Regions from separate parts of the Homo sapiens genome. Here region 2 is linked to region 1. Evidence: promoter capture Hi-C in 16 types of primary human blood cells and fetal thymus (Javierre and others, 2016). All regions are on one chromosome and are shown on one strand. Each heading gives the region's core, a stretch centred on a gene start or on the middle of the fragment in contact. The rest is flanking DNA. Distances are from core to core; before and after follow the strand shown. Region 1 holds the start of PITPNA (phosphatidylinositol transfer protein alpha). Region 2 has its middle 12 kb from the start of BHLHA9.

Evidence for each region. Contacts are between HindIII fragments. The CHiCAGO score rates a contact against its expected background, and 5 or more counts as called.
Region 2: a fragment that was not itself captured here is called in contact with the fragment with the promoter of PITPNA in region 1 in 7 of 17 cell types (endothelial precursors, megakaryocytes, erythroblasts and 4 more); the score reaches 16.6 in endothelial precursors.

What each region holds. Positions count from the first base shown.
Region 1 is chr17:1,561,417-1,564,116 of GRCh38, forward strand. PITPNA (phosphatidylinositol transfer protein alpha) reads right to left here and starts at 1,376. Exons shown (of 12, transcript NM_006224.4): 1 at 1,125-1,376. The coding sequence starts at 1,144. RefSeq lists enhancers at 329-428, 1,197-1,696 and silencers at 539-668, 1,149-1,198, 1,269-1,548. The HindIII fragment of the contact is 8,315 bases long and covers 237-2,700 here.
Region 2 is chr17:1,257,130-1,259,829 of GRCh38, forward strand. No RefSeq gene overlaps it. Among named protein-coding and RNA genes, the nearest start is that of BHLHA9, 12 kb to the right of the region's middle. The HindIII fragment of the contact is 2,984 bases long and covers 1-2,700 here.

The sequences.
Region 1 (2,700 bases), core at 126-2,625:
TCAATTCCTCAAAGAATTTCCCCATCTCTTTGCACCAAGACTGAGAATCCCCTAGAAACAAGCTGGCCCTGCCCTGGTCTCCCCCATCTCCAACGGCAGGTATACTCATCCCAACATACTCTCTTTCCGGACCAGCCTCGACCCCGGTAACTTCCCGGCCTTCTCCACTTCGGACCCTACCCAACATTTTCTGGCCTCCTCGCCCAAGTCTCCCCACGTCCCAAGCAGTCATCCCAAGCTTGTTCCAAAAGCCTCCTCTTCCGCACCAGCTGCTTGGGCACCACGGTTACTCCGGCCCGCATCTCAGCCCCCTCTGCATGTCCTCAGACCCTTCACCTGTCTCCCCAGCCAGGCCCTGACTTCCTAGTCCTCCTCCTGTGTCCACTTACCACCACCCCTCACCCGATGCCTAAGGCGGCCACTCCTCCCCATCCCCATCCCAACTCCATCGCGGAGCCTCTGACCCATCCACCCGGCTCTCCGTGTGAACTGTTCGGCCCTCCACCTTTCCCCACCGCCGGGAGGCCCTGCCTGCCCCGGTGCGCCTCTTCCTCGGCCGCCGCGGGGCCTCTCAGCGCCGCCTGCAGTCCCGGCTGAGCCCGCGCCCTCGGCCCGCGCAGAGCGACCCCACAGCACTCCCAGCGCTCGGCGTCCCCTCGGCCTCCCCCAGTCCCGGGCCAGCTCTCCCTGCCCTGACCCCGTCTCGGGCCTGGCCTCGCCCTCGCTGTCCCCGGCCTCTCCTCGGGTCCACTTGGGCCTCCGAGGCCCCCGGGGCGCCTGAGGAGCCGTCCGCCCGGGTTGTCCCTCCGTGCCCGTGGGCCCCTCCATGCCCCGGCTGCCCGTCCATGCCCCGTGGGCCCCGGCTCAGATGCCGAACGCCCCGGCTGCCCCTCCACGCCCCGGCCGCCCCTCCACGCCCCGGCCGCCCCTCCGTGCCCCGTGGGCCCCGCCTCACGTGCCGCCCGCCCCGGATCCCCTCCATCCCCGCTGGGCCCGCCTCAGGCACCCTCCGTCCCTGCTGCCCCTCCGTCCATCCGGGCCCTGCGTCCCTCGCCGCGCCGTCGCCCCGGCGGCCGTCCCCACCCTCCCTCCTCCCCGCTTCCGCACGGCCGCCGGACACTCACTACTCCTTGAGCAGCACCATGTCGCTTCGCGGCTCGGTGGCTGCCCGCGGCCCGCCCGGCCTCCCGCCCGCTGCCCGCCGGCCGCTCTCCCCGTGGCCCGGCCCGGCCCGGCTGCCTGTGCGTCTTCGTCGTGCTCTGCTCCGTCCCCGCCGCCCTCGCCGCGGTCGCCGCGCCGGCTCCTGCCGCCCGGGCCTCGTCGCCTCTCGCGCCGCTGCCGACGCCGCCCGGAGCTCCGGTTCCGCAGCGCCGCGCGGGGGCGGGGCGTCTCTGCGGCAACCAGAGCGTCACACGCCGCGGTGCGCGCTGACGTCACGCGGGGCCGAGCCTTCCCAGGCCCGCCCTCCCGTCCTTAAGTGGGCCGCGGCGGCGCTGTCGGTTCCGAGGTGGGGCCCCGCGGCTGGGGCCAGACCCGGCAGAAGGCGGAGCAGACTAGGGTGTCCGTCACCGTCCTCGGTGTGAACCGCCACGGATGCACGCGGGTGCTGGCTGGGGGGCCTCCCCGGTTGAGGGAATTGAGACCCAGGAAAAGGTTGTTTCAAAAAATATTAATAGCCGCGCGCGGTGGCCCACGCCTGTAATCCTTGCACCTTGGGAGGCCGAGGCGGGCGGATCACCTGAGGTCAGGAGTTCGAGACCAGCCTGGCCAACATGATGAAACCCCGTCTCTACTAAAAATACAAAAATTAGCTGGGCGTGGAGGCACGCACCTGTAATCCCAGCTACACGGGAGGCTGAGGCGGGAGAATCGCTTGTACCGGGAGGCAGAGTTTGCAGTGAGCCGAGATCGCGATCGCGCCATTGCACTCCAGCCTGGGGGACAAGAGTGAAACTTCGTCTCAAAAAAAAAAAAAAGAAAAGAAAAGGGCTGTGAGGCCGGGCGCGGTGGCTCCTGGCAGTAATCCCAGGCACATCATGCCTGTAATGCAGCACTCAGGCGGGCGCATCACCTGAGGTCAGGAGTTCCAGACCAGATGGCGAAACCCCATCTCTACTAAAAGTACAAAAATTAGCCGGGCGTGGTGGTGGACGTGGTGGTGGTAGTCCCAGCTGCTCGGGAGGATGAGGCAGGAGAATCGCTTGAACCCTGGAGGCGGAGGTTGCAGTGAGCCGAGATCGCACCATTGCACTCCAGCTGGGGCGACAGAGCGAGACTCTGCATCAAAAAAAAAAAAAAAAAAAAGAATGAAAAGGGCTGTGAGAAATGAGACACAGGCTTAGCGGCATTACACGGAGGGGCACCTAATTGAGCGTCAGGGATGTAGTCAGGGAAGGCTTCCTGGAGGAAGAGATTCTCAGATCTGCAGAGGGCTTCGGAGAAGAGCATAGCAGGCAGAGTGAATGCAAAGGCTGGAGGCAAGAGGGAGAGCATGGTGCATTTGGAGAACTGACAAGTGAGTGGAACAGAACATTTCAGGGCTGAGCAGCTCAATAGGGGAGGGTTCCTGGTGAACGATGATAAGGTATTTGGAGTCCACCCTAAGGGCGGTGGGAGGGCATGTAAGGGCTCTGAGCAGTGACATGAGCGGGTGTCCTGGGCGAAGGCTCACTCTAGTGGTTGGGTGGACAGAGGGGATGG
Region 2 (2,700 bases), core at 121-2,620, 300 kb before region 1:
ATTTTTCTGACTCCTTGTAGGCCTGAAACCCCTTTTTTAATTCTACTTTTTTTTTTTTTTTTTTTGATGGAGTCTTGCTCTGTCATCCAGGCTGGAGTGCAGTGGCACGATCTTGGCTCACTGCAACCTCCACCTCCCAGGTTCAAGCAATTCTCCTGCCTCAGCCTCCCAAGTAGCTGGGATTACAGGAATGCACCACCGAACCCGGCGAATTTTGTATTTTTAGCAGAGACGGGTTTTTGCCATGTTGGTCAGGCTGGTCTTGAACTCCTGACCTCAGGTGATCCACCCGCCTCGGCCTCCCAAAGTGCTGGGATTACAGGCATGAGCCACCGCGTGCGGCCTATTTCTACTTTTTAGAGACTGGGTCTCGCTTTGTCGCCCAGGCTAGAGTGCAGTGACGTGATCTTTGCTTACTGCAGCCTCAAACTCCTGGGCTCAAGGGATCCTCCCACCTCAACCTCCTGAGTAGCTGGGACTACAGATGCATACCACCACCCCCAGCTAATTTTTTAATTTTTCGTAGAGACAGGGTTTCTTAATAATAATGATATGACAATATTGATTCGTTAATTGTAATAAATGTACTACAGTAATGTGATATGTTAATAACAAGGAAATGGGTTCAGGATACATGGGGGACTCTTGGTATTCGCTTCTCAGTTTTTCTGTACATCTTTTTTTTTTCTTTCTTTCTCTTTTGAGGCAAAGTTTCACTCTTGTCCCCCAGGCTGGATTGCAATGACACAGTCTCCACTGACTGCAACCTCCACCTCCTGGATTTATGCGATTCTCCTGCCTCAGCCTCCCAAGTAGCTGGGATTACAGGTGTGTGCCACCACATCTGGCTACTTTTTGTATTTTTAGTAAAGACGGGGTTTCACCATGTTCGCCAGGCTGGTTTCAAACTCCTGACCTCCAGTGATCCACCCACCTCAGGCTCCCAAAGTGCTGAGATTACAGGCAGGAGCCACTCGCTCGGCCTAGTTTTTCTGTACATCTAAAATCATTCTAAAAAATAACGTTCATTAAAGCACAAAAAATGGGTGGCCGGTCGCGGCGACTCACGTCTGTAATCCCAGCACTTTGGGAGGCGGAGGTGGGTGGATCACGAGGTCAGAAGTTCGAGACCAACTTGGCCAACATGGTGAAATCCCATCTCTACTGAAAATACAAAAAATTAGCCGGGCTTGGTGGCGCATGCCTGCAATCCCAGCTGCTCGGGAGGCTGAGGTGGAAGGATTGCTTGAGCCCAGGAGGTCGAGGCTGCAGTGAGCTGTGATTATGCTACTGCCTCCCAGCCTCAGTGACAGAATAAGACCCTGTCTCAAAAAGCAAAAACAAAAAACAAAAAAACACCCCCCAAAAACCCATGAAAGATCAAAAAGCAACTGGAGAGAGGGAATAATAGCTAGCGGCTCAAAGTGTACCTTCTGTGAGGGTGGGAGTGGAGATGCTTCCCCCACCGCCCCAGCAGCAGGGTTATCTTCAGACAGCAGGACGTGCAAATGGGTGCAGACAGATCTCTTTGTGGGCCCAGGCAGGAAGCTGAGGGTTCGCATCTGATGGTATCAATTTTTCCTCTGAGACAGGAGAGGTGGGCTACGTGCAATGAAACTGCGGGTTGTACATGATGAAGACCTGAAGGTCCTCCAAGAGAAGTGCAGGAAGAACCTGACCAGCGCAAAAGAGCAGCTTCCTCTCCCAGCACAGATGACAAGACATAAAACTTCAGCTTTTGCAGGGGCAGCCCCAGGTGGACAGCACCAAGCAGCAGGGCCTTAGCCCAACAAGAGGCCTGAACTGAGCGCTTCATGGGGTTCAACTTTTTTCTTTTTTTTTTGAGACGATGGAGTCTTGCTCTGTCGCCCAGGCTGGAGTGCAGTGACGTGATCTGGGCTCACTGCAACCTCCACCTCCCAGGTTCAAGCGATTCTCCTGGCTCAGCCTCCCAAGTGGCTGGGATTACAGGCGCCCGCCACCACGCCCGGCTAATTTTTGTATTTTGGTAGCGACGGGATTTCGCCATGTTGGCCAGGCTGGTCTCGAACTCCTGACCTCAAGAGATCCGCCCGCCCAGGCCTCCCAAAGTGCTGGGATTACAGGTGTGAGCCACCGCGCCCGGCCTGGAGTTCCACTTTCTGACCAGAAGAGGGCGCCGGGGTTCCACTTTTGTTCTTCACGCCCCACGTTTCTCTTTCCAAAGTTGCTAAGGTTTGGAGTCTAGGAATAAAAAGTTCCCTTCTGAGTCCGCCACAATGATGGCGGGAGGCGGTGGGAGGGTGGGCGATGGTTTTGTTCCTTTGCTCGTTCACCCCGGTGGGGAGCCGGGGAGCCAGGGAGCAGAGTGTGGGAACTGGGTGGAGATGTCTGCGGAACGGTCACCCGGACACGGGAACACGGCTCTGAACGTCGGGAGAGAAGCTGCAGCTGAAAGGAGACATTTGACCTTTAAGGGATTGTCGGAAGAAGAGGAGCCGATCAAAAGGGACAGAAAAGGAGTGAGTGGGGAGAGATGCCAAAGAGAGGAGCCCAGTTCCCGCCGGGCACGCGGTTCAGCCTGTAGTCCCGGCGCTTTGCCAAGCGAGGCGGGCGGAGTTCGAGACCTGCCTGGCCCACAAAATGAGACCCACCCCACCCCCATCTCTACAAAAATAAAATACAAAAATAAATTAGCCCGGCGTGGTGACGGGCGCCTGC